4 separate regions of the Homo sapiens genome follow, and all the other regions are linked to region 2. The links are contacts of gene promoters, found by promoter capture Hi-C in blood cells and fetal thymus (Javierre and others, 2016). All regions are on one chromosome and are shown on one strand. Each heading gives the region's core, a stretch centred on a gene start or on the middle of the fragment in contact. The rest is flanking DNA. Distances are from core to core; before and after follow the strand shown.

The links. The method cuts DNA at HindIII sites, captures the fragments that hold promoters and counts their contacts. A CHiCAGO score of 5 or more calls a contact.
Region 1: a contact is called between a fragment that was not itself captured here and the fragment with the promoter of CD300LB in region 2, in 1 of 17 cell types (M1 macrophages). The highest score is 5.1, in M1 macrophages.
Region 3: a contact is called between a fragment that was not itself captured here and the fragment with the promoter of CD300LB in region 2, in 1 of 17 cell types (monocytes). The highest score is 6.5, in monocytes.
Region 4: a contact is called between the fragment with the promoter of NHERF1 here and the fragment with the promoter of CD300LB in region 2, in 2 of 17 cell types (neutrophils and monocytes). The highest score is 5.9, in neutrophils.

Annotation. Positions count from the first base shown.
Region 1 is chr17:74,288,953-74,291,712 of GRCh38, reverse strand. DNAI2 (dynein axonemal intermediate chain 2) reads right to left here. Exons shown (of 14, transcript NM_023036.6): 5 at 1,977-2,119; 6 at 580-693. Among named protein-coding and RNA genes, the nearest start is that of DNAI2, 16 kb to the right of the region's middle. RefSeq lists an enhancer at 2,115-2,615. The HindIII fragment of the contact is 3,992 bases long and covers 1-2,760 here.
Region 2 is chr17:74,530,129-74,532,828 of GRCh38, reverse strand. CD300LB (CD300 molecule like family member b) reads left to right here and starts at 1,354. Exons shown (of 4, transcript NM_174892.4): 1 at 1,354-1,518. The coding sequence starts at 1,479. LOC107985074 (a long non-coding RNA gene) reads right to left here. Exons shown (of 3, transcript XR_007065902.1): 2 at 188-282. The HindIII fragment of the contact is 3,995 bases long and covers 718-2,700 here.
Region 3 is chr17:74,780,392-74,783,091 of GRCh38, reverse strand. The region is part of intron 2 of SLC38A12 (solute carrier family 38 member 12); the gene reads right to left. Among named protein-coding and RNA genes, the nearest start is that of SLC38A12, 5.2 kb to the right of the region's middle. RefSeq lists a silencer at 1,938-2,107 and an enhancer at 2,686-2,700. The HindIII fragment of the contact is 4,846 bases long and covers 1-2,700 here.
Region 4 is chr17:74,747,255-74,749,954 of GRCh38, reverse strand. It overlaps NHERF1 (NHERF family PDZ scaffold protein 1), which reads right to left and starts at 1,327. Exons shown (of 6, transcript NM_004252.5): 1 at 668-1,327. The coding sequence starts at 1,108. SLC9A3R1-AS1 (SLC9A3R1 antisense RNA 1) reads left to right here and starts at 88. Exons shown (of 3, transcript NR_187307.1): 1 at 88-892; 2 at 1,028-1,382; 3 at 2,412-2,700. MIR3615 (microRNA 3615) reads right to left here and starts at 1,342; the gene lies at 1,256-1,342. RAB37 (RAB37, member RAS oncogene family) reads right to left here. Exons shown (of 9, transcript NM_001006638.3): 9 at 2,620-2,700. RefSeq lists enhancers at 264-889, 2,178-2,700 and a silencer at 1,094-1,783. The HindIII fragment of the contact is 23,505 bases long and covers 1-2,700 here.

The DNA.
Region 1 (2,760 bases), core at 223-2,722, 240 kb after region 2:
TAGTCAAATATTCTCTGATTTTACTTGAACTATAGTTTTTTAAAACTGTTTATTTTGAGCTAATTTTAGACTTACAGTAGTAACAGGAGACACTGCTGAGGTGTCAGCCAAACCTGCCTCACCCGTGTCTGCAGTTGGTCAGCTATGGGAGGCCCTCACCCCACTTAGTCTTCTGTGGCCGAGCCCAGGCTGCCATGTGGGCTCTGCCCTATAGCAGCAGGATTGGCTCTGACTATGAATCTGGGTCCCGGCCAGGTGTGGTGGCCCACACCTGTAATCCCAGCACTTTGGGAGGCCCAGGTGGGTGAATCACCTGAGGTCAGGAGTGCGAGACCAGCCTGGCCAACATGGTGAAACCCTGTCTCTACTAAAAATAACAAAAAAATTAGCCAGGTGTGGTGGTGGGTGCCTGTAATCTCAGCGACTCGGGAGGCTGAGGCAGGAGAATCACTTGAACCCAGGAGGCGGAGGTTGCAGTGAGCCAAAATTGCACCACTACACTCCAGCCTGGGAAACAAGAGCAAAATTCCATCTAAAAAAAATAAAAATAAAAATAAAAAAGCCTAGGTCCCTCCTTACCTATCTGTCCATTGTAGCAGCCACCCAGGAGTACGTGGGAATCTTTGGGGTTGAACTCCAACGTCACGAGTGGAGACGATGGCTTCAGAGCAAGTTCAGGCTTGTTGGGGTTTTCTATAAAGCACAAAAAAATTATCCCCACCAGGCCCGGAAAGAAAAGGACAGGATCAACCAGTTTCACCCCTTCTGCGGGTGGGTAGCGGGGGCATGGTGGCAGAGGGGGAAGCCTGGAAGCCCCTCCAGTCTTTCCCCAGCCTGCACCCCCTGGTCCACCTTGGCCAGAATCTGGCATTCTTGACCCTAGGGGCTTTGCTGATGGTTTTTATTTTTGGTGAACAGGATTGGGGTGTGCGTATGTGTGTGATAATTATATTTCTAGTCCAGTTCCTAGGTTTGGTGTGAAACGAGGTTTTGATACTAAAGTTTTTACACAAAGTCAACTCTCTGCCGGTTTCTTCCAACCAGGTCTGTGGACTGCAGATAATGACGGAGTCCACCCCATAGGGCTGCTGCCAGAACTCGCTGAGCTGTTGGAATGTCGGGCGTTAGCTCTCTGCCTGGCACCTACATGTTTATTTTAATAATGCTGACAACGAAGGGAAGCTGGAGAGCGTGAAGCCACCACCACCCTGTCCCTGCCTGTGTCTTGCCAGCCCTTCTGTAGACAATGGTTTGTGCTAATAAATGGACACGCTGCCCCTGCAGGCCATGAATTAAAGGCAAGTGTCAGGACAGATGGGACAAAGGCACAAGTTCCATTCCGCCGCCCCTTGAGTCCCTTCTCAGTCTGCTGGGCACTCTGTCTTGTTGTTGCTGTTGAGATAGAGTCTCACTCTGTTGCCCAGGATGGAGTGCAGTGGCATGATCTCGGCTCACTGCAACCTCTGACTCCTGGGTTCAAGCGATTCTCCTGCTTCAGTCTCCCAAGTAGCTGGGATTACAGGCACCCACCATCAAGCACAACTAATTTTTGTATTTTTAGTAGAGACAGGGTTTTATCATGTTAGCCAGGCTGGTCTTGAACTCCTGACTTCAGGTGATCCACCTGCCTTGGCCTCCCAAAGTGCTGGGATTACAGGCATGGGCCACCGAGCCCGGCCTGATATGCTCCTTAGGAGCTAAGAATTGAGATCCCATGGGGTCAGGTCTTCATGCCTCGAACTAAGAATCTGGAATTGGTGGGGGTTTCCTGCTTCTGATTTGACTCTGCTTGGCTCTGCCTGAAACCAGACAAGAGAGGAAGGAGAAGAGTGTGTTCCTCCTCGACTGCGGGCCCTTCCCTTGAGGCACCAACCGCGTGAGTGTCCTTGACCTCCTGCCCCTCCCTCCCGCTCCTCCACTTGTGCTGGTCCCAGCCCTCAGCCCTCCCAGGCCACCAGGACCCCGCTGCTTCTCACCCAGGTCCCAGATGTATGAATCGCTGCTCATGCCCACAGGTGCCCGCTGAAAATCCAAGCAGGAGTATGCCACTGCCAACTTCCTGTTGCCATCGGGGTGCCAGGAGAGGTGTGTGGCAGCCCTCTTGATTTCCTGGGGGTCCCTGCAGGGGAGAGGGAAGAGAGCAGAAGGCTGGATGTGAGGTTCCCCAATTTCTCCCCCTTTTTTTTTTTTTTGTCAGATGGAGTCTTGCTCTGTCCCCCAGGCAGTGGCATAATCTCGGCTCACTGCAACCTCTGCCTCCTGGGTTCAAACAATTCTCCTGCCTCAGCCTCCCGAGTAGCTACGATTACAGGCGCACACCACCACGCCTGGCTAATTTTTGTATTTTTAGTAGAGACAGGTTTTTACCATGTTTCCTAGGCTGGTCTCAAACTCGTGACCTCAGATGATATGCCCACCTGGGCCTCCCAAAGTGCTAAGATTATAGGCGTGAGCCACAGTGCCCGGCCCCTCGGATGATTTCTAATGCATCATCCTGCTCTGGTGGTCCATATACGAGGTTAGAGCCCAGCAGGGCTGGAGGGCAACAGGAAGGGCAGCCTCTGCCCCGCCATGCCCTCTCCTGCACACCCCTTGCTGACAGCCACTGGCCCTGCTTGCACACCATGAGTCAGCCCTGCCTCAGAAAAGAGTTCTTTCTTGCTGTGCTGGGACTGGGCTAGGTACTTCCCAGGCCCCTAAGTCAGTCGTGGTAGTGAAATGAATTCCCCAGAGCTGGGATCTGAGGCAAGTCATTTCCCA
Region 2 (2,700 bases), core at 105-2,604:
CCCAGGGGTGTTGGGGGGTTCTCCGTGTTCTCAGCAGCAAGCCTCACATTCGAGTCTTCAGTATGGCAGCCAACACTAAGTGTATGTACCCGGCTGACGGATGCCCATTGACTTATTTTATTTTAAAATAGAGGCTAAGAGTGCCTCGGAATGATAGAAGAGATTTTAAGCTCACTCCCATACTTACCACTCCGATGAGTGTCGTACCTTGGATTCCCGGCCAATGCAACAAAATGGTATGGCTCTGATGACTGGAGGAACACTAGGGTCCTTGGTCTCCCACTGGTTTGAATAAAACAACATGGGCACACGTGGAGTGGTTTTAAGGAGTGGAGAATTTAATAGACAAGAAAGAAGGAAGGAAGAGGCTCCCCCTGTTCTGAGACTGAGGGAGGCGGGCTCCAAGCTGAAAGAGGGAACCTCGAGTACGGTGGAAAACAGCCAGTTATATGAGGAGGCTGGAGGAGGCGGTACCTGATTTGCATAGGGCCCAGGGGATTGGTTTGACCAGGTATGTCATTCAAGTAGCCCACGAAAAAACTAGCCTTCCTACCCTAGCCTTTTAATATGCAAATACAGGCGCCATGATGTTCTACACACATGGGTGTATGTAGGGGCGGCCATGTTGCCAGGAACGTGGGGAAAAGAAGAAGAGGCGGGAGTCTCCATGTTTGGGTGGACGCAGTTTCTAATGGCCTGTATTTGCATATCAAAGCTTGCCTGCCCAGCTCTAAGAGCCAGGGCTTTTCTTCTAGACAAGAAACATTTATGGAGCTGCTTTAAAAGAAAAAAAAATCTTCCCAAGCACCCCTTTTCCTATCTACCTAAAATAATTTCTTAATAACTCCTATAACAACAACAAACATTATGAGCCCAGTTAATAGATACAATAACTGAGGCACAGAGATGTTGATTGCATTGTCCACAGTCACGCAGCTTGTAGGTGGTGCTCGTGGGGTTAGAGCCAGGTCTGTCTGACCCAACAGTCTGCATGTTTATGCACTTGGCTATAACACCTGAACAAATGCATGTTCAGGTGTGCCCAGCATGACCCATCCGACATCTGAGTTGGGTGTTCACTGTGGTATAGAACAGCTCTGAAATTGACTCCCAGAGTGTTATACCCCTTGGACCCAAGGCCTGCTAGGCCAGACGCCCCCCACCCCACCCCTTCTGCAGACGTATCTCCCCCTACCCTAAAGACCCTGCACAGTCCCCTCCCTCCTCTTTTTTACATAGTGACGATGCTTAAGCCCTGTGGCGCAGCCCTGCCAAAAAATGACACCTCTTTCGTTTAATAATTAAAAGCAGGAACTACCCACTCTATAAAAGGAAGTGAATGAGTAAGAAAGTCAAAGGCGGTCTAGATGTGCAGAAGGTGCAAGCCAGAGCTCAGGCAGAACTTCCAGAGTGCATCTGGGATCTGCATTTGCCACTGGTTGCAGATCAGGCGGACGAGGAGCCGGGAAGGCAGAGCCATGTGGCTGCCCCCTGCTCTGCTCCTTCTCAGCCTCTCAGGTGAGTGGGGCTGGGGCCTTGGGCGCTTGGTATGACAGGGGCAGGGCAGGAGGCAGAGGGCATTTGTCCTTCCACATCCAGGGAAATGAGAGGTGGCTTTGTGAAGTCATTCGACAAAGGTGCACTGGGGACTGACATCGTGTGCTTCGGGGCCTGAGGACATCAAGAAAAAAGAGGAGGAGAACTGGCCATTAAAGAAGACTCCAGGCTTGAGGCCATGGCTCACACCTATAATCCTAACACTTTGGGAGGCCAAGGTGGGAGGATTGCTTGAGTCCAGGCGTTTAAGACCAGTTTGGGCAACATGGTGAGACCTCGTCTCTATATAAAATGAACAAAAATTAGCTGGGCGTGGTGACCGTGCCTGTAGTCCCAGCTACTTGGGAGGCTGAAGCTGGAGGATCCTTTGAGCTCAGGTATTCAATTCTGCAGAGTTATGATCGCACCACAGCACTCCAGCCTGGGTGATACAGTGGGACCTTGTCTCAAAAAAAAAATAAAGTAAAAAGACTCCAGATGGCTTAGTGGGTGAGACATACACATAAACAATGAGCAATTGCAGGACACAATAAGGCATTGGTGGAGGCGTGTGCGGAGGATGAAGCAGTTCTCTCTGGTGACTAGAGAAAGACTCACGAAGCTGTGCACTTGATGTGCCTTGTAGAAGGAAGGTCAGTCTCTGGAGCAGAGCTGAGAGGAGAACACTCTAGAGAGTTGGGTGTGTGTGTGTGTGTGTGTGTGTGTGTGTGTGTGTGTGTGTTGGGGGACCTGGGCAGAGAGATGGAGGCTTAGAAAGAATGGTGGATTCATGCAGAGGGAGCTGTCAGTGTGCAGGATGTCTTGGAGGTGGCGAGTTGGATATGAGGTTGGAAACACAAAAGACAAGATTATGAAGGCCATCCACGCCAGGCTCAGGAGCTGAGACTTTCAAAGAAAAAACTTCTCAAGAACCCAGGTGGAAAGTGGGAAGGGCTAGATGATCTTCTCCATGGCAAACCTTGGTGGACACCTAGAGGGCATTAGGGGACAATCTAGAATTTTACGCAGGGTGTGCAATGTGTGTGGGCCACACAGTTTTCTGCTGGTGCCTAGGGACTGACCATCTGGCACAGATAGAGCAGTCCACGGAGGGACAACAGGAAAGAGCATGGCTGGGGAGTTCTGAGACCCGACTCCAGTCCT
Region 3 (2,700 bases), core at 135-2,634, 250 kb before region 2:
GTGGCGTGCTCTTGGCTCACTGCAACCTTGCCTCCTGGATTCAAGTGATTCTCCTGCCTCAGCCTCTGGAGTAGCTGGGATTACAGGCACCCACCATCATGCCTGGCTTAATTTTGTAGTTTTAGTAGAGACAGCGTTTCACCATGTTGGTCAGGCTGGGTCTCGAACCCCTGACCTCAGATGATCCACCCTCCTCGACCTTTCAAAGTGCTGGGATTACAGGAGTGAGCCAACACGCCCAGCCCTCAATCTCAATTTGATCCCACAGACAAATCCCAGAATGATGAAAACAAGTTTGAATCATCTTCCTATGCTTTGGTTGGATCACATCATCATCGTGATATGATTCCCCTTTGGGAGTCCTGGCTCAGAGTGGTGCTGCTAGAATAATTTTGAGGGCAGCAGTTGGGTGAGACAGGGGACACACAGCCCATTGCTGGTCTTCTGAATGGGAAGTTCTGGCTTTTCACAGTGACTGTGAATGTCTATAACTAACTCATGTTTACTTTTGCTGGTACTTTCATGCTCATGTGTACAAGGGTGGGAAGGGGTCATCTAGCTAGCTCAGTTCTGCTCATTTATTCAAAAACCAACAAGAGCCTTCTACAGACCGGGCCCTGTGCTTGGAGCTGAGGATACAATGATAAACCAGACAGATACGGCCCTTGAACTCACGGGGCTACGTTCTAAGGAGGAGGAAACAGACAACAAGAAAACAACTACAGGCCGGGTGTGGTGGCTCATACCTGTAATCCTAGCACTTTGAGAGGCTGAGGTGGGTGTATTGCCTGAGCTGAGGAGTTCGAGACTAGCCTGGGCAACATAGTAAAACTCCATCTCTACTAAAATACAAAAAATTAGCCGGGCATGATGGTGCACGCCTGTAATCCCAGCTACTCGGGAGGCTGAGGCATGAGAATCACTTGAACCCGGGAGGCAGAGGTTGCAGTGAGCCGAGATCATGCCACTGCGCTCCAGCCTGGGAAGAAAACAACTACGGTTACAGCTTGAGAGAGGCGTTATGAAGCAAACAATCAGGGCACTGTGAGAAGACACAATGGGAAAGCATTGGAAACAGTGGATACCCCAGGAAGGGAGCTGGAGGATGAGAAGGTGCTACCCAGGCAATAGACGAGGGAGAGACTTCCCGGCCCAGAGGCCTACAGTGGGAAAGAGGCAGGTAGGCTCGAGGAGCTTTCAGAAGGCCTGTGTGGCTGAAGCACAGCAAGCCGGGCAGGGGTGGGGCTGGAAGAGGCTGCAGTCAGACTGCGAAGAGCCCTTTTGGATGGCACAGGGGGTTGGATGTTTTGGAGCATTTTAAGCAGGGCACTAACAGAACAGACCCCAGCGGAAAACCTAACATCTGCCCTCCCTGCAGCTCTGTTCTCTGCTTATCGCTTCTGTAGGCAGTAATACTTATGAAGGGAAAAAAACCTTATTTCTTTATGGAGAATGATGTTCCCATAATGGAAGTAAAGAGAAAGCAAAGAGGCATAAGAAAGTGACAGTTCTAGGCTAGGTATGGTGGCTCATGCCTGTGATCCCAGAACTCCTGAGGTGGGAGGATGGCTTGAGTCCAGCAGTTTGAGACTAGCCTAGGCAATGTAGCAAGACTCTATCTCTACAAAAAAATAAAAATATTAGCCGGGGACGGTGGCAAGTGCCTGTAGTCCCAGCTACTTGGAAGACTGAGATGGGAAAATCGCCTGAGCCCAGGAAGTCAAGGCTGCAGTGAGCTGTAATTGCTCACTGGGTGACACAGTGAGACCCTGTCTTAAGAAAAAAAAAAGAAAGTAATGGTTCTTAGGCAAAAGTTTTATGGGGAAACTAAACAGTATAAGAGGCATTTGTAAATTCAGGGATGCTTGAAGGTCTTGGGATGTAAAAGTCAAAGGTCTCTTGTGGATCAGGGTTTCTCAGCTTGGGCACTATGGAAATTTGGGGGCCAGGTCTTTTTTCATGATGGGGACCTGTCCTGTGCATTGTGGGATGTTTAGTGGCATCCCCGGCCTTTGCCCACTAGGTGCCGGTAACAACCTCTCTCCAACCAGTACTGTCCTGACAATCAAAAATGTCTCTAGACACTGCCTACTGTCCTCTGGGGGGCAGGATCACCGCTAGTTGACAACCACTGCTGTAGAGAGAGGTATAATGAAATAAGCATGCTCCCAAAAGAAACTTAGGAACCTTTAAGAACTTTACAAAGAAATGAATGAAGAGAGAAACTATTGGCAGTTGGGAGCAGAAATGGGTAATTGCAGTTGTCTTGCTTTGTTGCAATTTTTTCAGTTCCAAAGCAAGCCCTGTGTGTTTAGTGGGGGCTCAGGGAATCCTGCAGGGTAACGTAGGACTTCTCTGCCTTCTCAGGACTGTGGCACTCCTGGCGAGCATTCAGTCCTCTTCACCTTCTGTAAAGGTAATCAGTGATGGCCAATCACAATGAACAGACATAGAGGCAGGAAGCAAATCTGGGCTGAGCCACAGGTTGGGTCAGGAGGGGTTGTGGGGAAGGAAGAGAAAGGAGACGTTCTCTTCTGCTGGTCGTGGGACAGTTCTGTGGGCCAGACTCCTGGGAAGCAGTGGCAGAAAGCTGAGGAATAGGCTCTACTGCAGTCTTGATAATGAAGACCAATGCATGCATTCTAAACTGAGTTATCTCCAATTCTCACCTCTTCCTCTGTGGCTGCACTGGAGGAGGCA
Region 4 (2,700 bases), core at 78-2,577, 220 kb before region 2:
CCACTCCGAGATGCCTTGGCTCCTCCTCCCTGCCAGGCAACCCCCACACCGCCCTGAGATGGTGGGGCTTCCTCTCCCTTAGAAGTCACACAGGACTCCGGGAGGATGAAGTCCAGCAGGACTGAAGTTCAGGACACACACCGGCGGGCTGCGGAGAGGGCCTCCTCGCGCCGGGGCTCCACACAGGAGGAGTAATGCTATTCCTCTAGCTTTTGAAGTAGGAGTGGCGGGCGAAGCTGGCACCTCTGGGGCGGAGAGCCCTTTCTCCCCGGCCCATCTGCGGACTGGGGTGAACGAGGAGAGGGCACCAGGGAAGGAGCAGGATTGGGGGATTCCGAGGAACGGGAGCAGACACCCACAGACCCGAGGGAAGGGGGCTGGGTTCCCCTGCGCCGCCCTCCCAAAGGCCAGGGAACAAGAGGTGCAGGCGGCAAAGGCGCTCAAGCTCCCAGCACAGCCTGGGAAGGAGAGGAGGTCGCGGGACGCAGCCCCAGGCCTGCCTAGGATGTGTCAGGGCGCCTGGTCGGCGGGCGGAAGCGGTCTCCCCCTCGCAGCTCGAGTTTCAGAAAAACGACGGCGGGCGCGGGGCTGGACGGCCGGGGCACCTGGGTCTCTCCGGATCCTCCTCCCACTCCATGCCAGCCTGCGCGGCTTGGGCCCCGCTTACCTGCTCCGGGTGGCTCTTGTCGGCCTCGCGAGGCTCATTTTCGTTGCCAGCCCCCTGCACCTCGGCGGCGGCCGGCGGCTCGGCCTGCCCCGGCGCTTCCTGGGCGCGCAGCAGCTCCTCTCGGACCTGGACGCCGAGCTTCTGCAGCTGCTCGTCCGTCTCGGGGTCGACCACCAGCAGGCGCACGGCGTTGAGTGCGGCGCGGATGCGGCTCACCACCTGCTGGTGGGTCTCCTTCTCCACGTTTTCGCCGTTCACCTCCACCAGCCGGTCCCCCGCCAGCAGCCCCGCCTTCTCGGCCGGCGAGCCGGGCTCCACCAGCCGGATGTACTGGCCCAACTTGCCCTTCTCCCCGTGCAGGTGGAAGCCGTAGCCGTTCGGACCCTTCTCCAGGCAGCAGAGCCGGGGCAGGGGCGCCCCGGCCGCTGCGTCCGCGCTCATCTCGCCCTGCGACGGGTCAGCGGCGCGACTTGGGGTTCCGATGGGGACGGGACGGGACGGCCCAGCCCTTCTTCCCGTCCAGCGAACCGGGAGCGCAGCAGAGAAGCCCTGAGCCGCCGGACGGGCCAAGCAAGCAGGTGTCCCAGGAACCGTCGGCCGCCGCGAGCCGCGAGGAGCCGAGAGAGGACCACAGACCAATCCCCGCCCCGCGCGGCGTCTGAGCGTCCCAGAGTCCGCCCCGGCTCCTTACCCCGGGGGCGGGGCCGCGCTGAGGGTGGGGACCTCCGCGGGCCAATAGGGGGCTGCAGGCCTGGGCGCTCCGGCCGGGTGAACGGCGCCGGCCATTGGGAACGCGCGGGGCGGGGCCTGCGCTCGGCGCGGCGCCCCGCGGCGGGCGAAGACTAGCGCTCAGGAAGTGGAAGTGTTTGTTACCGAGCGGCCGGCGCTGGGGTGGCAGGGGCGGGGCTCGCCGAATTCCCGGTTCTGGGCGGGTGGGCCCGCCGGCTCCGGCCTGGTTTCCCCTACCTGTGGCGGGGAGTGAGGAAAGCCGGCCCTCGGGTAAAGGACCCTAACTTTTTTTTTTTTTTTTGAGACGGAGTCTCGCTCTGTCGCCCAGGCTGGACTGCCGTGGCGCGATCTCGGATCACTGCAACCTCCGCCTCCCGGGTTCAAGCGATTCCCCTGCCTCAGCCTCCCGAGCAGCTGGGGTTACAGGCGCGCACCACCACGCCCCGCTAATTTTTGTATTTTTAGTAGAGACGAAATTTCGCCATGTTGGCCAGGATGGTTTCAAACTCCTGACCTCAGGTGATCCGCCCTGGGATTACAGACGTGAGCCACCGCACCTGGCCAACGTTTTAACAGCCTTTAGCCAAAGCCTGGGTGCAGCTCCAGTTGAGAGGGAGCGGCTGTTGCCGGGGCAACTGCTCCCGCTCGGGGCAGCGAGGGCCGGTCAGTCTCGAGAATTAAGACGGAGGGCCTCCTCGGACCCTACAGAGTTGTTTGAATAACATTTTTCCGTTTGTGGGAACCCTAACCCTAATCCACTTTGTGCTGTCCCAGGACTCGCATAGAGGAGTGCAGGTTCTGATCCCTGCTGGGAAGGTGAGGGCTCCGCGGAGAGCCTGGGACCTCGAGGGGCAGCCCGCTGAAGACAGGCCATCTAGGGCAATAGCGTGGGCTTTGGCAGCAGCGTTTGGCTAGGGAGGTGGGGTGGGGAGAGGCAGGACAGACTCAGGTAATCAACCTCTGGGTACACGCCACAGGGAAAGGAGCCTTGGTTTTTTTTTTTTTTTTCCAACAGAAAAATGATTAGGACTGTAAAGCCTTCTAGCTCCCTCTTGCCAAAGAGAGGCTGGTCACAGAGGCGGGAGACAGTCTGTTGAGCGGGGAGCTGACCATCTGAGGACAGACACTGAGGAAGGAGGATGGAATGATTTTGGCAGTGAATGACAATTCCTTCAACAAGACCCCCCCCCCCCACTCACTTCAAAGAAACAGTGGACAGGATGTGCTTTCCAAAATACTGCAGTTTAATTCTGAAAAACTCAAATGCAAGAGGCCCAGAGCTGTCTATGGGATTGGATCTCCTG